5 separate regions of the Homo sapiens genome follow, and regions 1, 2, 3 and 4 are each linked to region 5. Evidence: promoter capture Hi-C in 16 types of primary human blood cells and fetal thymus (Javierre and others, 2016). All regions are on one chromosome and are shown on one strand. The core of a region is centred on a gene start or on the middle of the fragment in contact, and the rest is flanking DNA. Distances in the headings are between cores, read along the strand shown. Region 1 holds the start of ATOX1-AS1 (ATOX1 antisense RNA 1). Region 2 overlaps G3BP1 (G3BP stress granule assembly factor 1). Region 3 overlaps GLRA1 (glycine receptor alpha 1). Region 4 holds the start of CCDC69 (coiled-coil domain containing 69). Region 5 holds the start of FAM114A2 (family with sequence similarity 114 member A2).

Evidence for each region. Contacts are between HindIII fragments. The CHiCAGO score rates a contact against its expected background, and 5 or more counts as called.
Region 1: the fragment with the promoter of ATOX1-AS1 here is called in contact with the fragment with the promoter of FAM114A2 in region 5 in 1 of 17 cell types (M0 macrophages); the score reaches 5.0 in M0 macrophages.
Region 2: a contact is called between a fragment that was not itself captured here and the fragment with the promoter of FAM114A2 in region 5, in 1 of 17 cell types (M2 macrophages). The highest score is 6.2, in M2 macrophages.
Region 3: a contact is called between a fragment that was not itself captured here and the fragment with the promoter of FAM114A2 in region 5, in 1 of 17 cell types (M2 macrophages). The highest score is 6.3, in M2 macrophages.
Region 4: the fragment with the promoter of CCDC69 here is called in contact with the fragment with the promoter of FAM114A2 in region 5 in 1 of 17 cell types (erythroblasts); the score reaches 5.0 in erythroblasts.

The regions. Positions count from the first base shown.
Region 1 is chr5:151,750,595-151,755,244 of GRCh38, reverse strand. ATOX1-AS1 (ATOX1 antisense RNA 1) reads right to left here and starts at 2,165. Exons shown (of 4, transcript XR_007059008.1): 1 at 1,936-2,165; 2 at 1,123-1,572. It overlaps ATOX1 (antioxidant 1 copper chaperone), which reads left to right. Exons shown (of 4, transcript NM_004045.4): 2 at 3,466-3,541. The HindIII fragment of the contact is 3,507 bases long and covers 30-3,536 here.
Region 2 is chr5:151,800,573-151,805,382 of GRCh38, reverse strand. G3BP1 (G3BP stress granule assembly factor 1) reads right to left here. Exons shown (of 12, transcript NM_005754.3): 11 at 4,514-4,623; 12 at 1-1,498. The coding sequence ends at 1,292. Among named protein-coding and RNA genes, the nearest start is that of G3BP1, 31 kb to the right of the region's middle. The HindIII fragment of the contact is 1,052 bases long and covers 2,907-3,958 here.
Region 3 is chr5:151,821,754-151,826,478 of GRCh38, reverse strand. GLRA1 (glycine receptor alpha 1) reads left to right here. Exons shown (of 9, transcript NM_000171.4): 9 at 3,516-3,966. The coding sequence ends at 3,806. Among named protein-coding and RNA genes, the nearest start is that of G3BP1, 52 kb to the right of the region's middle. The HindIII fragment of the contact is 3,763 bases long and covers 574-4,336 here.
Region 4 is chr5:151,221,541-151,226,002 of GRCh38, reverse strand. CCDC69 (coiled-coil domain containing 69) reads left to right here and starts at 1,911. Exons shown (of 9, transcript NM_015621.3): 1 at 1,911-2,080. The coding sequence starts at 2,033. LOC105378230 (a long non-coding RNA gene) reads right to left here. Exons shown (of 4, transcript NR_160730.1): 4 at 1,653-2,527. RefSeq lists silencers at 181-475, 1,959-2,038 and enhancers at 2,159-2,358, 2,379-2,488, 3,909-4,128. The HindIII fragment of the contact is 18,522 bases long and covers 1-4,462 here.
Region 5 is chr5:154,036,181-154,040,942 of GRCh38, reverse strand. It overlaps FAM114A2 (family with sequence similarity 114 member A2), which reads left to right and starts at 2,033. Exons shown (of 14, transcript NM_018691.4): 1 at 2,033-2,086. MFAP3 (microfibril associated protein 3) reads right to left here and starts at 1,976. Exons shown (of 3, transcript NM_005927.5): 1 at 1,932-1,976. The HindIII fragment of the contact is 2,878 bases long and covers 976-3,853 here.

The sequences.
Region 1 (4,650 bases), core at 916-3,415, 2.3 Mb after region 5:
TATGTTGATCTTGCAAACCCTTCAAAGCTTTGGCTCAGTATATAAGTACAAACCATAGATGAATTGATTTTCTGCTGGTTATCCTAGAGCAAGACTCAGCAAACTTTTTTTTTTACACGGCACCGATAGTAAACATTTTAGTCTTCACAAACCATAGGGTCTCTGGTACAACTACTCAACTCTGCCATTCTAGTGCAAAAGTAAACAAATGAGTTTGGCTGTAGTTTTTTGTTTTTGTGTTTCTTTTTTTTTTTTTTTTTTTTTGGACGGTGTCTCGCTCTCTTGCCAGGCTGGAGTGCAATGGCATGGTCTTGGCTCACTGCAACCTCCGCCTCCTGGGTCAAGCGATTCTCCTGCCTCAGCCTCTTGAGTAGCTGGGACTACAGGCGCATGCCACCACTACCAGCTAATTTTTGTATTTTTAGTAGAGATGGGGTTTCACCATGTTGGCCAGAATGGTCTCGATCTCTTGACCTCGTGATCCTCCCGCCTCAGCCTCCCAAAAATGCTGGGATTACAGGCATGAGCCACCACACCTGGCCCGATTTGGGCTATGTTTTAACAAAACTCTTTGTAAAACAGGTAGTTTGTAGTGTGCCAATCCATGTTCCAGAGCATCATCATTTTTTTTTCCAAAACAATTTTTTTCTTTTAAATTAAATGGAGCCATGATCTCACTGTATTGCCCAGGCTAGTCTCAAACTCCTGGGTTTAAGTGATTTTCCTGCCTCAGCCTCCTAAGTAGCTGGGATTACAGGCACCTGCCACCATGCCTGGCTAATTTTTTTTCTATTTTTAGTAGAGAAACAGGTTTTGCCATGTTGGCCAGACTGGTCTCAAACTTGTGACCTCAGGTGATCTACCTGCCTCAGCCTCCCAAAGTGTTGAGATTATAGGCATGAGCCACATTGCCCAGCCTAAAAAAACTTTTTAATAGAGGAGAGCATCATCTCAGACTGTAATGTGGGGAGGAATGACTTGGGTGTCTTGTTAAAATGAGGATTCTGATTCCGGACTTCTGGGAAGGGACCTGAGATTCTGCATTTCTGACAGGCTCTCAGGTGATGCTCATATTGTTGGGCTGAGGACCACATTTTAAAGACAAGATTTTGTAATACTTACTACAAATCCTTCTTTCCAGAATCTGTTATTGTTGCTGTCTGTGAATAGTCAGGAAACAAGATGAAAAAATCAGAGATGTTTAGAAGAAAGGAAAGACTGACCATTTTCTTTAAGACAGATTTTGCAGATTTGGCCTTAATAAAAGGAGTGGTTTACTAGTCACAAAGGTCAAACAGTCTGCACTGGAAAATCGAGCTGCTTAATTCTTGGTCTTCGTTTCCTCTGTAGAGCACAGTGACAATCCAGACTCAGCGGTGTTTAGAGACTTGGAAAGAGTTTGAGAAGCCACTTAGCCACTTTATTTTCAGGTTTGTAGTTTTGCCTCCCGTTCTCTCCCCAGTAGGTTAAAAATGGGGAGTGGCAGGGCCCGCTCCACATCCACAGAGTCAGTTGAGGCAGGTGTCTGGGAGCTGCACTTTCCACAAGGTCCCCAGATTCTTCCTATGCACACTAAAGTTGAAAAAAATTGAGTTAGCTAATACCCTTTTGGTATAGATTAGGGAACTGGAGCCCTTCTGGAGCAGAGATTTTGCCTGTGGTTTTCTAGCAAGATATATCACTACACCCAGGATTCCAACTGAGGTAATAGACTTCAAATATTTTGAAGTGCTCCATGAAAAATGTAGCCATTGATTTTTGAAGGGAAACAGGAGAGACAAATGGAAGAAATTAATAATCCAATAGCTAACCTTTTACCCAACGGAACCTAGTACTAGGCTCTAATTTCCTTAATGTGTTAGTTATCTATTGCTCCTTAGTAATTATCCCAAAACTTTGTAGTATAAAACAACAAATATATTTATAGTAACTCACACAGTTTCTGAGAGTCAGGAATTTGGGAACAGCTTGGCCTAGTGGCTCCAGCTCAGAGGCTCTCATAAAGCTGCAGTGAGATGTTGGCTGGAGCTGCATTCATCTGAAGGCTTGACTGGAGCTGGAGAATCCACTTCCAACATGTCTCACTCACATGCTTGTTAGCTCGAGGGTTCAATCTCTCACTTTGTGGACCTCTCCTTGTGGTTGCTGGAATTTCTTTGTAATTTAGTAGCTGACTTCCTCTAGTGCAAGTGACCCCAGAAATGGAGCAAGACAGAAGTCACAGTGTCCTTTATGACATTGTGATAGCTTCAGAAGCCACATAACCTCACTTCAAGCCATATTCTATAAGACACACAGACCAACCCGAGACATGTGGAATGGGATTACTCAAGGGCATAAATACCAGAGGCAGAGATCATTGAGGCCATCTTGGATGCTGGCTAACCGTACTTAAAATCCTGTGTTCATCCCATTCACAAATCTAGAGAGGGACTCTTACCCTCAATTTTCAGATGTGGAAACTAAGGCACAGAGAAGTAACATATTGATGATCATGCAACTAGTAGTGCCAGAGCTGGTATCTGAAGCCATATTTATCTGATTTCAGATGGTCTCATTTCCAGAGATTTTAAAATAAAGTATTGGTATAAGTAATCCTTGTGTGAAAGCAAAGCAAAAGATCCAGAAGTTCAAACCAGCCATGTCAATTATCCATTGACTCAAAAATAAGTTTTAAGCACCTACTCTGTCCAGGCACTGTTCCAAGTATTAGGAATCCAGTAGTGAACTGAACAAAACCTCTGTCTTCTGGGAGCTTACCTTCAGACCCTTGATCTGTTAGATATCCTAGAGACTGTAGAATGTAGAGCTTACATGAAGACTAGGAGCCGGGGATCCCTTCCTGCCTGGCCTCCAACCCACTGGGGAACCCAGGCAATCCTTTCTTTCCCTGGACCCAGATGCTGCCTCTGAGAATGCGGCCCTTGGATGAAAGCAGAATCACCTGGGGTAATGAGTAGACATAACAGATTCCCCAGCCCAGACCTGCTGACCAGAACCTGTAGTTTTTGCAAGCTGTAGGTGACTCTAGTGCAGAAAATAATTTTGTGGTTCATAAGTGGGCCCACCAGATCAGCATTGCTCAGAGTATGGGGGCCCATCCCTGTCAGAGTTACTGGTGGCCCTGAGACAAAGCTCATAGCTCAAGAATCAGTGTTTTGAAGGTAGGACTGGGAAAAAGCATTTTAAACTAGATCTCCAGGTGATTCTATTTACTATGTGCCAGACACTGCTAAAGGATTTATAGGGATGATTCCATTGAATACAACTTGTGAGGTAGAAACTCTTAGCTACTCTATAGTTGAAGAGACGGGCTCAGAAACAGGCTTCTGATGAGTCTGATGCCAACCAGGTCCTGCCCAGTCTCTCTGTCTTCTGTCTTGACCCTGAGTGGGCCTGTCTGCTGGCACTGTGTGGGGGTCACTCTACAGGGCTCGGGTCATGGTCCCCCTGTGTTTGTTTCAGAAGCACGAGTTCTCTGTGGACATGACCTGTGGAGGCTGTGCTGAAGCTGTCTCTCGGGTCCTCAATAAGCTTGGAGGTGAGTGAGTGGCCCTGAGTTGGGTGCACTTATGCCATGTTCAGATGCATGCAGATGTTGCAGGAGAGACTTAGGGTTAAGCTGATCATAACAGTAAAACTAAAATATATTGAGTACTTAGCACGTGCCAACTACTCTTGTTATTTTCTTAGTGGCTTATGTGAATCACATCATTTAATCCTCACCACGGCCATTTCAGATAGTTTTTTTTTTACTAGCTCCATGTTAAACAGGAGACAGCTGAAGTTCAGAAACATTAAATAACTTATCTGGGATCACATGGTCAGTAAATGGCAGAGCTGGGATTTAGCCAAATTAACTAGTACTGCCAGGAGTAGCTCTGGAGCCATGGCAGTACTAGTTCATATGTTGGTCATCTCCAGTGTGTACTGCATGACACATCTGAGTGTCATTTTCTATTGAATTTTTTTTTTTTTTTTTTTTTTTGAGACAGAGTTTCGCTCTTCTTGCTCAGCCTGGAGTGCAATGGTGCAATCTCGGCTTGTTGCAACCTCCGCCTCCCAGGTTCAAGCAATTCTCTTGCCTCAGCCTTCCAAGTAGCTGGGATTACAGGCATGCACCACCACGCCTGGCTCATTTTGTATTTTCAGTACAGACGGGGTTTCTCCATGTTGGTCAGGCTGGTCTCGAACCCCTGACCTCAGGTGATCTGCCCGCCTCGGCCTCCCAAAGTGCTGGGATTACAGGCGCGAGCCACCCTACGCAGCCTCTATTAAGGTTTTTTAAATGGGGCTGGGCACGGTGGCTCACACCTGTGATCCCAGCATTTCGGAAGGCTGAGGCGGGCAGATTGCCTGAGCTCAGGAGTTCCCGAGACCAGCCTGGGCAACATGGTAAAATGCCATCTCTACAAAAAATACCAAAAAAATTAGCCAGGCATGGTGTTACATGCCTGTACTCACAGCTAATTTAGGGGGCTGAGGTGGGAAGATCGCTTGAGCCTGGGAGGTTAAGGCCACAGTGAGCCTAGATCGTGCCACTGCACTGCAGTGGGGGCAACAGAGCAAGACCCTGTCTCCAAAAAAAAAAAAAAAAAAAGAAAGAAAAAAAGGAAAGATTTAAAAAAAGGTAAAAATTTTTAAAATTTT
Region 2 (4,810 bases), core at 2,183-4,682, 2.2 Mb after region 5:
GAAACGAGTATTAGTCTATATTGCCAGATTAAATTTTCTTCCAGAAATATTTTAATAAAAATTGGCCATTTCCAAGTAACACCCACTGCATGCCCATCAATAAAAGAGAACCATAACAAAATAGAAAATTTACCATATGGCTATGATTTTAAGAAAAAAAAAAATGCGGACACGAGCACATGAGCAAAGTCCAATATTAAAGTAACATTCCTTCTTACGGGCTATGATTAGGAATCTGATTAGATACCAGAATAAAAATACAAATGCTGAACTATTTAGGTCAAAGAACCTCTATAGAAGCATCTGTCTTCAAAGGCATTCCAGTTTGAGACTCAATTTTAGAATAAGGCATAACAAATATGTTAACAAAAGACATACACAAAGTGATGAAAGAGGGATTCTATAATTCCCCACATACTCTGAACCTAATAAAACAAATCTAGATTTTTTTTTTAAACAATTGCCAAGACTGAAATCAAAGATAAATAGAAGGCACAACAGTTTTGCTCTGGTTGTTATCTGGGTTTTGGGAATTTTTTTGCTTTTTGTTTTTTTACAAATACAAATTAAACATGAAAAAACTACTTCAAAAAAACTAACAGTTCAAGAAAAGCCTATCAGTTGCATTCTAGACATTTAAAACCTATTATCACAATTTAAATTTCAATGGTAAAAACAGTTAGGTTTTAGAATTGTTTTGTGATCCTTTATCAAAAAAAAATTCTATTCCTTTTATTCAGTTTTTAAACATACCAGTGAGAATCAAAATTGTCAAATTTTCCAATGGCAATTTCTCCACACCAGAAGGTAGTCATGACTCTCAAAGAAGAAACAATTTGGGTTTTTCCTGCCTTCAAAATATTATCAAATCCTGTATTTCTTACAGGCTTTTCAAACACGTAGAAAATAAGAAATATTCCAATGAATGAAACATACCAAATGTCAGTAATATGCAAGACATTCCTTTGGGGAAATGGCTGTAAAAAAAAAAAAAAAATCCAGTCTGTATATGCAAAGTAAGCAAGGAAATTCAGTCTTTTTTTTTGCTTCTTTAAAAGTCCGTTATTCCTAAAATATCATTCCACAAAATTGGAAGTGAAAGACTAAAGGTCAGGAAAGGGAAGAGAGGGAGAGGGAGCACACACCATTAACACACAAAAAAAGTAAAATTATACAAACTTAAGCAGTTTATAACAGACTGGGGTCATACTCCAAGATACCAAAGGCTGTCGAAAATTCACCATTCTGTTGGAACCAGGGTTTGTATGGCTGCATGAAGATCCATGAAGATTCACTGCCGTGGCGCAAGCCCCCTTCCCACTCCAAATCCTGGTTTCTGCACCATGCCTCCACGGGGAGGGCCTCTCATTCCACCACCCAGCCCACCTCGAGGGCCTCCAGGTCCCCGAAGGCGATTATCTCGTCGGTCGCCTTCCCTGGCAGCTCGAGTCTTCTTCTCTTCGACATTCAGACGGACCTCACCTCTGAACATGATGGGCTGTAAGAATCAAGGTGACCAGACTTAAGAGTACTGATGAGCTGGCTATCACTATCAAAGATAAAGAAAGCTGTAATAATGAACCAGCAGAGGCTGGGCACGGTGACTCATGCCTGTAATCCCAGCACTTTGGGAGGCCGAGACGGGTGGATTACGAGGTCAGGAGTTCAAGACCAGCCTGACCAACATGGTGAAACCCCGTCTCTACTAAAAAAACACAAAAATTAGCCAGACATGGTGACACACGCCTGTAGTTCCAGCTATTCAAGGAGGCTGAGGCAGGAGAATTGCTTGAACCCAGGAGGCGGAGGTTGCAGTGAGCCAAGATCACGCCATTGTACTCCAGTCTGGGAAAAAGAGCGAGACTCCGACTCAGAAAAAAAAAAGAACCAGCAGATTATAAATCAGCTAAGTTCTCACAGTTCAGTTTTTTGTTTGTTTTTTTAATGAGACAGAGTTTCACTCGTCACCCAGACTGGAGTGCAACTTGAACCCGGGTGGCGGAAGTTGTGGTGAGCCAAGGTCGTGCCACTGCACTCCAGCATGGGCGACAGAGTGAGACTCCGTCCCAATAAAAAATAAAAAATAAAAAAAATTGCCACCTTCTCCATAGATTTGGAGGCTTAGAATAAAACCTCATCATCACCAGTGTGAAAAGATGGTACTGTACATATTTATGCAAAGTACATATACATTTAAAATAAAAACTTCATTAATTTGACATAAACTTTAATTTGCTCTTTAACACCTCCTGAGAATTTTGGATAGTCTTGGCCTTCGTTTCCTCCTAACAGAGCCAAAGTAGTTAAGGGGCTACGAAACATTTCAATATATTCAATTTATGCTCTTCACCAGCAATGTAATTTTCTAATTTCTTAAAATGAGTATCTAAGAGTACTTACTATGTGTCGCGGAAGTGTTCTATTCAAATTTATTTATTTATTTATTTTTTGAGATGGAGTCTCGCTCTGCTGCCCAGGCTGGAGTGCAGTGGCGCGATCTCGGCTCACTGCAAGCTCCGCCTCCCAGATTCACGCCATTCTCCTGCCTCAGTCTCCCGAGTAGCTGGGACTACAGGCGTCCGCCACCACACCCAGCTAATTTTTTGTATTTTTAGTAGAGACGGGGTTTCACCGTGTTAGCCAGGATGGTCTCAATCTCCTGACCTCGTGATCCGCCCGCCTCGGCCTCCCAAAGTGCTGGGATTACAGGCGTGAGCCACTGTGCCCAGCTCTATTCAAATTTATTAGCTCACTTAACCTTTACAACAACCCTCTGATGGTAGATACCTACTTTAAGGACTAGCAAACTAAGGGCCGGGGAGGTTAAGTAACTTGTCCCATGGGTCACAACACTAATGAGTGATGAAAGGAGAATACAAACCAAGGCCTCCAGGGAAAAATAAGCTTTGAAACGGTAAGCTACACTACAGTATGTCATACACCACGGCAATCAGTCTTACATAAGCTATTTCTGCTCACACAAAAAATTAGTGAAGGGAGCATAGTAGACTTCTATCAATACCATGAAATGAAGGGTGGCCACTAGGCCTAATACATGCTGAATGATGGATTTATCTACAAAGCCTACTGGACATTTCTGGGTTCTTCAGTGGCTTTGGTGAGATAAACCACTGTTCTCTCATTTCTCAAACAGTATTTTGCAGGAGATGCTTCACAAAAATAAATGGTCAAATAATTTGAAAGATAATGTATATTTGCATACTCAGGTTGACATGTTATAACCACAACATTAAACTATGCAGTAAGGCCAGGTGCATTGGCTCGCACCTATAATCCCAGCACTTTGGGAGGCCAAGGTCAGCGGATCACCTGAGGTCAGGAGTTCGAGATCAGCCTGGTTAACATGGGGAAGCCCCATGTCTACTAAAAATACAAAAAAATCAGCTGGGCATGGTGGCGGGTGCCTGTAATCCCAGCTACTCAGGAAGTTGAGGCAGGAGAACTGCTTGAACCCAGGATGTGGAGGTTGCAGTGAGCCAAGATCACACCATTGCACTCCAGCCTGGGTGGCAGAGAGAGACACTGTCTCAAAAAAAAAAAAATAAAAAAATAAAAAACTTTGCAGTATGCCCATTAACATTCTGGAGAATATCACTGATCTGCAGTATTTTTATTATATGGTTTAAAGTACACAATTTTAATTCATAGGGACAGAAAGCAGATTAGTGGCTGCCAGGGGTTGGGAGACAGGTACAAGGAATGACTGCTTAGTGAGTAAAGAGCTTATGGCTTTTAGTAAAAAACTTTTGGAATTAAAGGTAATGGTTGCACAATAATGTGTTCTAAATGCAATTAAGTTGTACATTTTTAAATGGTTAATTTTGTTATGTAAATTTCACCTCAATAAAAAAGTATAGCTTAGTAAATTAATATTATTTATACACTTGTTCTTCTCTACTACTACAAAAAGTAGTTTTTTGCTAGAGGAAGGGAAGCTTTCTTTGGGGATCCCACAGTAAGATTTCCATTCTACAAATTCTTCTATTATTAGAACGTACAGAGTAAGAGTACTGTTAGTAAGGATGGTTCCAAGTAGGTTGACTATATAATTTATCTTCCAAATCCAATTTATTAACTTAAAGAAGAAGCTCTTAATAGTTATTCTCTAAAAACAGCAGTATACCAAAACTGTCCTGGGCAAACTGGCTCTTATCTTAGTTAATAGTTAGAAGTAGGTTTGTATTTCATCTCCTGTATACCAAAAGCCACCACCAAGGAAAGGTAGTTACGTAAATCTCAGTGCACTGATAACTATTCATTTTCTCATTCTCATAATTCATGTTTTCAAAAACTAAGTTACTTAAACATAAGGTTTGTTTTCCTAAACCCCCAGGCAAGTCTTTTAATAATGGTTGAAAATAATGAATAAATTACCTGAACATGTTGGAATAAACTGCACTTTACATAAAGACCCAGCTGTAAAGATATATTCTAAAGAACCAAAACCCTTTTTAAAAAAAAAAAAAAAAAATCAAGACAAAAAGCTGCTTACCCTGTTGCTAAGGACTTTCTGAACAGGCTCAGAATCATCAAACACAACAAAACCAAAATTGGGTAATTTCCCACCACTGTTAATGCGCAACTCCACCACGTTTCCATAACCTGCAAGTGAAACACATTCTCAGATAACTACTTAGACCATTATCTTTAAACATTACATGTACACAGTCCAATACAGTAGCCACTAGATGCATGTGACTACTGAGCACTTGAATTATAAATATAGCTAGTCTGAATTGAGATGTGCCTCTCATAAGTGTAAAATTATGGGAGGCACATTTGGATTTCA
Region 3 (4,725 bases), core at 1,206-3,705, 2.2 Mb after region 5:
CATTAACCATACCACCATGAGTTCTTATCTGTTCATCAGTGTGTCCATCCTGAAGCAGATAAAAATTGTCCTGCATTTATTAGATCTTAAATAAAAACTAAGCCTCATCCCATGGCGAAGGTCAAAAACTAGTAGCCGGAAGGCCAGATTTGGTGTGCAAATATCTGTACTTTGGCCTGGAGTGTTTTTAAAATCTGGACTTAAGGGGTCAGCATTTAAAAACCACACTTCTGGCTTCACTAGAAAAAAAATCACAGCATCCAGCCACACTGAATGTGCTTCCCATAAGGTATTGGTGCACTGGAACTGCCTTTAGGTAGGGAATGCATTTTCCAGTTAATACCATCCCTTCTAACCAGGGATATTTTTCAGCCCCAACTCACTTTACCACTCACATTTCTCCTGCCTGCCTCCTTCTATGCATTTGAATTAACGTAATCTCATTCATAAGGGCTCTTAAGTTGGCCCAAATGTCAGAAATTACAATGATGCAGAAGTGAGCTCACCATAAAGAATAGTTTCCTTAGAGTAAGCCGCTCTGGAAGTGATTTGTACCCTAGAGGTGTACAAGCTTCTTCTGCAGAAACTCTCTTTAACAGGAAGTTTGCAGAAGGGATTTTAAGTCCCAGATGGTGAGTGGAGAGGAACTAGCTACATGCCTGAATTTCTCAGAGCCTGTGATCTTGGACAGCTTTCCCAACTCCCACCATCTTCCCATGTTGCCTCATTTGTTGTGCACAAAGCATCTGGTTCTCGAATTCTCTGGCCAGCCTCCTTAGGCAAATTATCAGGAAACCATATCTGTGAGCACCAGACTCAGCAGGCATACTACTAGCAACTTCCCTGAGCTCCAGAGTACACTACCAGATTTCCCCTGCTCCAGCTCTAAGCAGCTCCAGATGCAGTTGGGCATGCATTTCCTGCCACCTGCTGGTTCCAATAAGAATAGCAAGCCTTTTACCAGTCATTCCTAGGGAATTTTTCTCCCAGACACAATATGAAATTGATAATCCTCTAGCTAGATGGGGCCTTCAATCCAAACCTCTACTCCTCCTACTCCCATGTTTAACAGATGAGAAAGGCAAAGAATAATTCACCCAAAGCAGCATAAAAAGTTAATTTGGTGCTTCCCCCTACGTAACTAGGTCCCAGTTTAAAATAAAAAATAAAAATAAAAATAGAACAACACCCCAGCTCCAGCAAGGGGAGATTTTCATTGAAATGCAATAGAGTCAGACTTAGACCCCCTTCTAAGTACTAGGTCCAGCAATTTGGCTGGCTCTCCCCAACTCCTCTCCTTGGCCCTGGCATTGAATCTTCTACTGTTGCCCTATTCATAGACAAGTACTTACTGAGCACCTGTTTGCCAGGCACTGTAGGTGGCACATCCTCTTCCTCCTCACTTTTGCAATGAAGATGTTGGACAAGATTCATTCATTTTCCAAGGATTTCTTCAGCATTTACCATATGTCTCAAACCCTTCTGGTGCTAAAAATACAACTCCATTTAAACAAACAACAACAACAAAAAAGGACACTAAAGCTGGTGAAGATATACAAGTAAACATTTGTTCAACAAACATATACCAAGTTTTGAGCTTATGAACCAGGGACTATGTTCATATGTTCAGTGTTGAGAGTGCAGTGAACATGACAGACTTTGCACGGAGCTTATAATCTAGTAAGAGACAGACGCTAATCAAGAAATTACCATACAATGTGATAAGAGCTTTAAAAAAAGACGGAGATATATACAGAGAGCTTATGGAGCACACAGCAGGAGCGGCTAGCCTATACTTGGGAGCTCAGAGAAGGCTTCTAAGGAAGAATTAGGTGAAAGAGGAGTTGGAGACAAGAGATGGGGTTCAGAGTGTGTTCTAGGCAGGGAGAACAACTTGCACAAAGGCCCAGAGTTCAAGAAAAGAACCATGACATTTTCAAATATAAGGAAATATTTCAGTGACTAAAGCATAGAACACCAGATAGAAATGGCACAAGATGAGACTGCAAAAGCAGGCAGGGTCCAGGTTCTAAGGCCTTGTTTATCATGTTCAGGATTTTAATTAACCTGAAGTCAGTGGCAGCCTATTAAAAGGTTCTAAGCAAAAGATGACCAAGATCTGTGTTATAACGACTCAGATGGGTTGGGTGGTGGGGGCAGATTGGAGGCTGTTGCAATGGTGGGCTGGACACAGTGGCTCACACCTGTAATCCCAGAACTTTGTGAAGCCGAGGCAGGAGGATCTCGAGGCCAGGAGTTCAAGACCAGACTGGGCAACATAGCGAGACCCCCATCTCTACAAACAAGATAAAACAAAACAAACAAATCAGAAGGTGGCCTACCCTACAGGAGAGATGGAGAGGCACCAGTGAATCCTATACTGAGTTTTTCTCTGTTGGCCCGGTCCTGCACAGGAACAAGCAGAAGACGGTGTTCTTTTCCTGAAAGCATTATCTAGTTGGGCAATGTGAGCTGATAAAACTTCCCAATGCCAACATTGAATCAACAGCTGAGACCAAAACATTAGACTCTCAATTCCTCCTCAGAGCTCACATGCAACGATAACAAAGCTGGACATGAGGAGAGCAGACAATAGTGCCTCCATGATTCAGACCAGGGCAAGACCACCATGACCTGGGAAAGAGATGAACTAGAAGGATCAGGGCAGCAGGCATTTTGGTAGTGAGCATAAGGAAGGGACGTGAGAAGGCACAAGAGAAAATGTACAAACCTGGAGGGCTGCAAAGTATCTGGTGGGGGAGAAGGAAAGCCTGGAAAGGTAAGTTGGAGCCAAATGATGAAGGGTCTTGAATGAAAACTTAGTAAAAATCCAGAGGTCTGTCTGAAGTTACAACTGCCAGGGATGTGGGAACGTAGAGGCAGGAAGAAGCTGTGGCTTCCCTGGCTTGTAGAACGGAAGTGAGGCCCAGAGCTCCTGCTCCATCCTGGCCCATAGCCATCCCCCTTACCACCCACTCCTGGGAGTTATTAACTGGGGAATGGGATGGGGAAGAGGGCAAGGAAGCAACAGAGGCAAAGCAGGGGATCTGTCCAAATTGTCCTCTGAATTTCTAACTAAAACCCAGTACAACCTTGAATATGTTCTCAATTATAACCTCTGATGGTCAAAAGAAACTTGTGGAGTAGTGGGGAGAATCTTATCCCCCAGGTAGAAGAAAAAATGAAATAAAAATCCCCGAGACTCACAGAAGGAAATTACTTGCCTATGGTCATACAACCAGCAATTGATAGAGCTGGGACTTGAACACAGGTCTCCAGACTCTAAACCACATTCCTATCCCCTGTTTTGCATCTGTTTCAGCAGGCAAGTGGCGCCCCTCTATAAGGCAGAACTCCCCAGCCAGCCAAAAAGCCTCCAGAAACCTAGAGTGATGCAGTCTGGAAAGCAGGGAGAACCAGATAGGCATGGCCTGGCCCCCAAGGGAGTGCCTTGCAGGGAGGGTGCCTAGCCCCTGTCTTATTTTAAGTAGAGCCCCATGTTGAATCTATTCCAGGAGGATGAAGCTGGAGAAGGCCGCTTTAACTTCTCTGCCTATGGGATGGGCCCAGCCTGTCTACAGGCCAAGGATGGCATCTCAGTCAAGGGCGCCAACAACAGTAACACCACCAACCCCCCTCCTGCACCATCTAAGTCCCCAGAGGAGATGCGAAAACTCTTCATCCAGAGGGCCAAGAAGATCGACAAAATATCCCGCATTGGCTTCCCCATGGCCTTCCTCATTTTCAACATGTTCTACTGGATCATCTACAAGATTGTCCGTAGAGAGGACGTCCACAACCAGTGAAGGGTCTGAAAGGTTGGGGGAGGCTGGGAGAGGGGAACGTGGGAATAGCACAGGAATCTGAGAGACTAAGGAAGAGAAGGGGAACGGAGGGAGGGGGCACACTTACACAACTCTCTCTGCAATATGTGCAATAGCAAAATGCAGTGATGCATGAATTTTACAATGTGGCACTATTTAACCTCAGATGGGCTGTGGGCGGGGGGTCAGGAGGGACTTTTCTAATACAGCAACTGAGGGCTGGGAGGAAAGGAGGGGGTAAGGGCAGGGGGTGGGGGATTGGGGAAATAATAGCTTTCAAAAATCTGTCCATGGGCTGTGCAGTTTTCCTGTTTGGAAGGAGAGCGCAGTCTGCCCCAGAGCAGAAAGAAAGTAATGTAATATATGATATATATTCATGCTTAATATTAATGCAAAACCCCAAAAACAAAAGATTTGTTTCTTAACCTATCAGCCTAGTAACTGCTTAAATTTTTAAAGTCACGGAAGTAACGGACAATTTTTCCCAGAGTGGAAACAGTCACAAATAAGCTTGCTCTGGTGTATGTCCCATATCATACCCCTCCAAACGCCATACCTGTCTTCAAACTGACCCAGGCGGACACATGCCAAAAAGCCATTTTGCCTCTGCTTCAAGAGGGCTGTGTGGTATGGGAATGGGTAGTGGAAATGGGGACAGGTAGAGAGACGAGAAGGGAGTGACTAAAGAGACGGACATTTCAGAGGCCAAGGATTGAGAATGTAGGTAACCCCAGCTCAACCCTCACATCTCAAGGCTGAGGACCACAATTGCCCCTCTCTGAGCCCTCTTGCTTCTGTGCTTCAACAACGCCCCACTCACCCTTCACCAGCACCCAGAAATGGCCAATGTGGTTTTCTCATTATATTGCCAATATGCAATCTTTTTTATGGTTAAAAAAAG
Region 4 (4,462 bases), core at 662-3,161, 2.8 Mb after region 5:
CATCAGTATTTTTGCTGGTTATGTGGCATTCTATTTTTATGGATATAGCATAATGTATTTAACCAACCTTCTTTTCTTGGCTGTTTAGGTTGTTTTGGGTTCTTTGTTTTTAATCATGAGCACTGTTCCAATAAACATTGTTAATTTTAGTATAATTTAAGTATATCCTGTTTCTTCAGTACCTGTGGAGCACGTCCTATGGCAGGGGTTCTCAAACTTTAGCCCAGGCCAGACATGAGTGGAGTGCTTATGAAGCCATAGATTCCTAAGCCCCATCCCCAGAGTTTAGGCCAGGGGTGGGGCCCGAGAATTTGCATTTCCAACAAAGGCGGCTGGTAGTGCTGACACTGCTGATTTGGGAATCACACTTTGTGAGCCACCATTCTCTATTATACTTGCTTTTGAGAACCTAATAACACGTTTCCTTAGTTTCCTTTCTTACACACTTTTGCAATTGGTTTTGTACCCTATGGAGGGAGCAATTTTTTTGAGGTCTCATATTCTTTCCCCATTCATGACTCTAAGCCGTTTTCACAGCACACCTTTCCAAGAGTTTTGGGCCTGACTTTAATATTCCAATATACACGCAAATAGGCATACACACTGATTTTCAAAATTGGTTATCTTTTTCCTGCATTGCCATTTCAGAAACCTCAGCTAATAACAAAGAGAAGATAAACAAAAGCTCCTTTTCCTAGACACTGACATTTTATGTCCCATAGTCACCATACCTGGCCTGCCTCAAGAGGTTGTTGTGATGAATAACATCTATCCAAGATGGATAGAGTCAAATATTACAGATGCTTGTGAGGTGGAAAAAACTATCAGCCCAGAAGTGAGGAGGCATTAAAATTAAACTTAGTATTATTGGCCAGGTGTGGGATCCCAGGACTTTGGGAGGCCGAAGCGGGCGGATTACCTGAGGTTGGGAGTTTGAGATCAGCCTGGTCAAAATGGTGAAACTCTGTCTCTACTAAAAATACAAAAATTAGTTGGGTGTCGTGGTGCATGCCTGTAATCCCAGCTACTGGGGAGGCTGAGGCAGGAGAATCACTTGAACCTGGGAGGCAGAGGTTGCAGTGAGCCAAGATCGTGCCACTGCACTCTAGCCTGGGCAATAGAGCGAGACTCTGTCTCAAAAATAAATAAATACAATAAACTTAGTATTATGATTTATTTGTAGGCCATTGAGTCAAAGTTTAGGTTCTGGAGTTAGAACTGTATTCTGTGCAGTGGCTCATGCCTGTAATCCCAACGCTTTGGGAGGCCAGGGTGGGAGGATCGCTTGAGGGCGGTCGTTCAAAATCAGACTGGAAAAAAGAAAAGAATTTGGTTGGGTATGGTGGTGAGCCTCTGTAGTCCCAGCTACTCAGGAGGCTGAGCTGGGAGGCTCGCTTGAGCCCAGGAGTTTGAGGCTGCAGTGAACTATGATAGCGGCAAAAAAAAAAAAAAAAAAGGAACTGGATTCTATCTGGGCTGTGGTAACTTACTAGCCATGTGACCTTAGGCAAATCATGTTGCATCTCTGAACACCATTTTCCTCACCTGTAAAATGGAGGAAGTAATACCTTTGTTGCACTGATATGGCAAGAAATAGAAATAAAATGTATAAAACAACTGGGACAAAAACAGCCCTCAATGAATGATAGTTGTTAGTTTATCAAATAATTGCTTTAATTATTTTTTCCCCCGGCCCTTTCTTAGCTGAGGGTTCGGAAAAGCATCTGTTGCTCCTTGAGGTTTTCTTTTCTTCTGCCCTGACCAGAGCTTCCTATTATTTAGAAGGATTCTGGTCACCTGCCTCTGGTGGCGGCGCCGCTGGCCCTGCGGGCTACACTGAGGCCCCGCTCTTCGGGTATTTACGGCGGGCGGCCGCCCCAGCTCAGGCTCAAGACAGCGCTTCCAGGTTCAGTTTCAGGGTCTCGCCGGCAGCCCCAGCCGGCGGGCGCGGAGCGGGCAGCGGGGCCCGGATCGCAGGCTCCTCTGGGGGCCCCGGAGTTGGGAAGCGGCGTCCGGGAGCCCCCGGAGGAGGATGGGCTGCAGACACAGCAGGCTGAGCAGCTGCAAACCCCCGAAAAAGGTAAAGGGCGCCGGCGGAGAAGTTTGCTTTCAGAGGAGAGGGGAGTGCGGAATCGCTCCGCCGCAGAGGACTCGGCGCCCCGGGCTCTCTCTGGTCGGCCCGGGATACCGGACGGAGAACCTGGAGAGGCCAGCTCAGAGACGAGGGAGGCTCTGCTGGGAGGCGCCCTTTACCCCGGCCCGAGCCGCACCAAGCAGCCGAGTTTACAAACACGGCACCCGGGCCAGGGAAAGGCAGCTGATTCCCGCTGCCTCGGGTGGGGAGATGTCGTGTGTCTGTGGCAGGTGCCCTCTGCTTTCGGTCTGGGGCTGTTCGCTGTGTGGCCATGGACAAGTGACTTGACCTCTCTGGGCCTTCGGCTTCCTCCCCCCGGGGGTTAAAGGCTGATAATCTCAGGGCTGCTCGAAGAGTGTTCCACAGACTCGCAGTATCAGCATCCCTGGGGACCTGTCAGAAATGCAGAATCTCAGGCTCAGGCCCAGTCTTGCCAAGACAGAAGCTGCCTTTTAACAATATGCCCAGGTGATGACGCTTTAAAGTTTGAGGCGCTGGTCTTAGGGCTCTTGCAGGCCCCAGAGCTGGTGAGTGTGGGCTGCCCTTGGGGTAGCTGGGAGGGGCCAAAGAGGGAGGAGATCTACTGCGTTCTGTGGCCCTCTCCTCCCTTCCTGTCCTTCCCCCAAGGGGCCTTGGAGCTGGGTCAGGGCCCAGGGGACAATTCTCAGGTTTCTTGCAGTGAGACCAGCTGCCCCTTGGGGTCTGACGAGCCCAGAAGGTCAGAGCCTGGAGCTAGAAAGATAGCCTCCTCAGGGGACACTGTGAGGCAGAGGGGAAGAAGGACCCTCAAATTCTGGCCCCTTTTCTTACCACTACCTGCCCCCTAGCCAGGTGGGACTAGGTGATCCCTTAAACTTTATCATCATTCCCCCTTGAGACCTTGAGAGGCCCCAAACTGTGACAGTGTTTAATAGTTTTGCAATGAACTTTAGTCCTCCCTCTGCTCCTGCTTTGCTTGTGCCCTGAGTACAGGTTTTTCTGCCTAACAGTAGTCCTAGCCTGGAGGATTCTACTCCCTTCTCTGACACCTCCTGGCTTTCCTTGCTCTCCCTTTATTACCAGATTGAAATTCTCACCAACTCCTGACCTAGAAACCCTCATGTCTTTACTCACTCCAACAGGGAAACTGAGGCTTGGCTCTATCAGTAGAAGGAAGGGGCTGGCTGACAGGGATGACAAGGCGGAGAGACCTGAGCCTTGGCTGAGACTTGTAACTGAGCAAGTGGTAGGCAGACATTAGCCCTGGGTGTAAGTCCTGGTGGTGCCATAAACATACTGGGTGACCCCAAGCAAGCCCTTGTGTCTCCCTGGGTCTCAGTTTCTCCCTGTATGGGGAGTGATGAGCAGGATGATCCCTAAGCATCTGAGAGTCTGTGTTCTCTGCACCTGTGTCAACCTTGTAGCTTGCAAAGTGGACCAAGGGTGAATTCCATCTACCTAGAGGTGGAGGAAACGGGGAAGAGCCTGACCCTTCCACAAGCTGGAAGAGGAGGTCACAGTAAGCACAGGTTCTTTGGCTCCTGCTCCTTCTGAGAGACTTACCAGCTGTTCCTGCCTGTCCCTGGCACAGCCAAAGCTCTGAAGGGCAAGTAAAGCTGGCACAGCCTGTCTGAGTTGGAAAGGGCCTTTGGGTACTACCTGGGCTGACGCACCCACTATACAGATAGGAGGTTAAGGCCTAGAAAAGGGAAGGAGCATGACTGAGGTCACAGAGCAACACAGAGCAGAACCCAGGTATCTAGTCCCCTAGCTCCGTGTTCTTTGTCTCCACCTCCTCCCGCTGTGCTTCCAGTGGCTTCTTGATGACTTTAGCGTAAAATCTTTTACTCCTGTTGCCTCAGAGAACAGCCTGGCATGCCTTCTTGGCCCCAGCCATGCCAGGCCCCTGCCCCTATATGGCAAGATTTATGGGCTGTTTTTGTTTAAAGTTCTCATCCCTGTAGGCTGTGCTCCTGCCCAATTTCTCACCCAGGTGCCAACCCCTTGGAAGGCATGAGCTCCCAAGTTCATCCCCAACAGGCTACCAGCCCCCTGGGAGAGAGGGGGACTCCAGGGATGGGATGGACAAAAATGAGCTCAGGCTACAGAGGGGTTAGGTTCTGATAACCATGACTCACCCTGAGTGTTTACAGCATGCTTTCACATCCCGCCCAGTCTCACAGAAGCCCTGGAAGTTAGGCTGAGCTGCAGAATCTTTCCCACTTTACCGGGGAAACTGAGGCTCAGTGAGGAACGATGGGTCCAAAGTCACACAGCCAGTTGGTGGCAAAGCTGTGCAGTTGAGCCTGGCTTTCTGCACTCCCCATCTGGTGCTCATTGCCTTATACA
Region 5 (4,762 bases), core at 784-3,283:
TGGTAGTGTGAAAGGTGTCTGCTACAAACTTATTAACTTTCCAGAGCTTCAGGCTCTGGAAACTATTGATGGAGAGAGGTGAAGATAAGAAAGACACCTATCTTGAGTTTTAGTAGGCAGAACACTCTAGAGAATCATTTGACTGGTTTTCTCACTCTGTAATTTTCAGACCATTTATATCAAATTAATTTGTGGTGCTTGTTAAAGATGCAGATTTCTTGACCCCACAGACTTATTGAATTGGGATCTCTAGGGGATGCCTGGGCATCTGCATTTTTAATGTGCATATAGGTTTATTGATTTACAAATCAAACTCATATTTCTTTTACTGGCATGACAATCACCGTAATTCAGTGTAATTCTCAAAAGTGTGGTGCAGGAACTCCTGGGTGTCCCTGACACTGTTTCAAAACAATTTACATAATATTAGGACATATCCCTTTTTCACTCACATTCTCACACAATATGGCACAATTTTCTAAAAGTTACATGATGATTGATATTGTAAGAGAATGAAGGTAGAAGTTACGAAAATCTAGCTGTCTTTTATTCAGCCAGACATTAAAGAGATTTGTAACAATGTAAAACAATGCCATTCTCAATAATTTTTCATTTTGGAAAATATCCTTTACAGAAATGCTATCTATGTTAACATATAATGAGTTTATTTTAAAATGAATAACCTTTGTTGAAAGTTGTTTTCTAAAATAGTAAATATTGATAGCTATTATAAACAAAAACCCTTTGAAGTTCTCAATACATTTTAAAAGTATAAAGAAATTCTAAGATCAAAAAGTTTGAGAACTGCTGCTATAATTATCAGCAGCATTTAAAAAATAAGTGGCTTCCCAAGATTCCATACTTTAGCCCCAAATTCTATGCATTTTCCATTACAACAGAAAATCAGAGGAAATGATCCATTTTATATTTAAGCAGGGGTTTTTTTGTTGTTGTTTTTTGGAATTTTAACAAGCTTCCAGGTGATATTGATGAACCTAAATTTAGAGAACCACTGTCAAAAGCAAAGGAAAATATCTGAAGAGTTTTAGAAGTGACAATTACTCTTATCTGGGAATTAAGATGATAATTCCGAGGGCATTAAATGGAGTTGGAAAACATGAGTTCTTAAAGGCTAAGTCCCTTCACCTCTCTGGGATTCAGTTTTTCTTATCTGTACAATAAGATTGATTTTAATATTTTACTAGCTCTGTCAGTCTGGATTTCATGCATTTTCACTGCTCGAGGGCAACAGAAGAGTTGCATCTTTCTGATGAGGTCCCAGGAGTAATCTTAGAGTCATAAATCAGATCATGTCATTCATCTGCTTAGAAACCTTCAATGGTTTTCCACTGGATTCCAAACAAAAATCAAACTCTTTATCCTTGCTCATAAGCCTTACAAGATTTGGGCTCAAGTCCCTGGCCTCATCTCTCTCCATTCTCACCTTGCTCCTTTTGCTCTAGCCAGTGGCCTTTGTCTTTTCCTTGACTTTGCTAAGTTTGTTCCCACTATATGGCCTTTGCACGCGCTATTCTCTCTGCCTGGAATGCTCTATTCCAGATTTTCATACGGCTTATTACTCTCCCACTTCGTTCCATCACATTATCCAGTCTAAATTTCTTTACAGCACTTACTACCACCTTAGATAATCCCGTTTGTTGACTTGTTTATAATCTGCTTTTCGCACTGCTTGAGAGCAGGGCCCTTCCGTTCGTTGACTGATGTGTCCCTGGAGCCCAGGGCAGTGCCTGGCAGGTATCTGGCTCTCAGTAAGTGTTCGATGACCGAACTCCCACACCCAGGCCAGACTTTCAAAAGAATGGCAAACATTTTCGCCTCCTGCACTCCCGACCCCAAGCCACAGGCTACGACTCACGCCTCGGCGCTCCTAGTAGTCCCCTCGCAGCGACCCCAACCAAGCCGTCACCTACCCGACCGCCGTCTAGCTCCTTCCGGCCTCAGCGGCGGCTTAACTCGGAAGTTTTCTCGGACACACCGGCACGCCTCTGCGCTGAAGGAGCACTTCCGGGGCAGTAGGAACGCCGAGTCGGCTGCCGTGGCTGTGCTGAGGGTGGCGGCCGGATAGGTGCGGAGCTTCCTGAACGAGGCAGGAGGGGTGCGAGGTTCAGGGGCAGGGCCCGGGCAGCCGAAGTCGTTAGGGAGGCGGTGACCTGACGGTGGGCGGCGGACATCTCGCGGCAGGGTCGAGGGCTGTGAAAGCGGTTTAGTGATTGAAGCGCTACGTTTGTGTGAGGAATTCTTGTCGTTGTCAGCGCCTGAGAACTTAGTTGGGAGCGGACGTTTACGTCGAATCTCTCGTTTGGGACCCCATTCTTGAATGTGGGAAGAAGTGAGAGCGCATGTTTGCTCATCTAGAGACAGCCGTATTAATAACGATAGGATACAAACCATCACCCCACCAAGTGATAGCAGCTGTTAACCTGTGGGCGGTTACGTGCCGGTCACTGTTCCAAGCCCCTCACATATCGCGTCACTGAATCTTTATAGGGACCCAGAACTCCATTTGACAGATGAGGAAACGGAGAGGCAGACAGGTGACCTGACTTCCCCACAATCGCTGCAGGACAGGAAGAAAGTAAACTCCAGAGCCCGTGCTCTTAGCTACTAAGCTGTACTGCTCTTCATTTTGGTAAATGGGGCGGGTGGAGTGTATATATACGTAATATATATGTGTGTGTGTAAGCGTATGCGTTTTTATTTCTTAAAAATATGGCTCAGCCGTATTTATTTACAGTTATTGGAATCTTTCTCCTCCAACTGAGAAAATAACTGGAGGAGAAACTACAATTATTTCTACACGCTTACTACACAATGCCTGGAAGACTTACAAAAACACTAAATAGTGCAGTTCCACGTACTTGGTGTTTATTCCTTTTTTTTTTTTAACCTTTCTCCTAGATTATGAATGAGTTGAGGAAAGAGATGGTACAGTCATTCTAATAACGATAGTAATGATAATATAAACAACCATCACCATAAAAAATTCTCTTCTGGCTTAGCTCAAATATCTGGCACAAATGAAAGAATAGAGATAACCAGTGTTTAATATTTTAGTAAAGGGACTGTTTTGGCAGGGCATGGTGGCTCACGCCTGTAATTTTAGCACTTTGGGAGGCTGAGGCAGGGGAAGATTGCTTGAGGCCAGGCCTAGGGTTCAAGACCAACCTGGCCAACATAGCGAGACCCTGTCTTTAAAAATATATTTTGGAGTATGTCCTTCCAGTCTTTCATGGAATTATATGAATTTATGTAATATGTATATTATATATTCTACATATAGTATACTGTATATATTTATGATGATGATAATGATGCGTTGCAACCTGGAGAGAGCATAAGGAAAAGATAGGAAACATTTATTCATATACACAAAACATTAATTGAACTTTGTGCAAAAACTGTCTCGTCTTTCCTATTAGATAGGCCCTTGGAGTGAATGGCTTACATTAGTTCTCTATCTCCACAGGTACTGTGGTACTACTTGGTACGTAGTAGGTACTCAAAAAATGTTTGCGAGTGAATGAATGGCTACTTCTAAGTTGGTTTGTATGTCAGTGAGTAGTTGTATCTGGATTTTTTCTCTATGTGTTTTGGAAATGTGTAATGTGTTTATATTATATGCCCATATATTCTGAACTCCATAGTGTTGTCTTAATCTACCTTTCTAGCTTCATGCCTTCCCATTGTTCTTCTCTCTGCCATGGTAACTACTCCCTACTGTAACTGTCCATGTTCCATACTGTCAGACCTCAGGCCTTTGGCTGTACCCTCATGTTATTTCCATATCCTTGAATCCTGTCATTGGCATCATCATCTGTCAAAATCATAAGCTTCTTTTAAGGCAGGTGTTGCCAACTCAGATGCCTACAGAGGTTAATCAGGTAGCATAATTTGAGTGAAGTGGATTTGCGTGGGGGATTGTAGGGAGCTGGAGAGCAACTGCCCTAGCTAAAAGGGCCCAGCGGCTATTTAGCACAAGCTAGTTATTACAGAGTTGAATGTGGGCCCGGTGTTGCTAGATCTTTTAATTTTACAAGTTAGAAGTTGGAAGCCTATATTTTTATATGAAGTCTGATTTTTAAATGTTGGCATCTAGTTTTTGCAAAGGTTAAATACTGTGCAGGCCAAATAAAAACATCTGTAGGCTGGATTTGGCACTTAAATTCCCAGTTTGTGACCACTACTCTAGGCTTATTTCAGGTACTTTGTTCATGAATTACGTTGTCTGATTCTAATGGAGTTCTGTTTTTTTTCAGCATTTTGTGTGTTGGATGGTCTGGCAGGGATGTTTCAGCATTTTGTGTGTTGGACTGAATGCAGCACCTGTTATAGTGCTGCATCCAGTCTGCCTTAGTTTTAATATGCCTTTCTTTTCTAATACATTAGAAACATTTTGATAGCATGGGTTGGGTCTAATTCTGCACTTAGTACATATCAGTACATACCTACAGCGTGTGTGTACATATGTGTGAGATGTATTGATTTCTACTCTGATAATCCTTGGTTATCCTGGAAACTAGTGTCTGTTCTTTGTAGAGACACCAATAGTATCTTGGCTTTAATTGCCAAAGAGCTCTACATCTGGAAGGAATTGAATTGAGTAACACTGGTATTCAAAAGTTGATCTGACATAAAGCCAATCTGATGGCTTAAATTTCATGATGTCCTGGAAAAATTGAGGTAGGAATGATTAATAACTAGTAAGATTTTTAAGGACAATAAGTAAAAGGAAAAATTGATA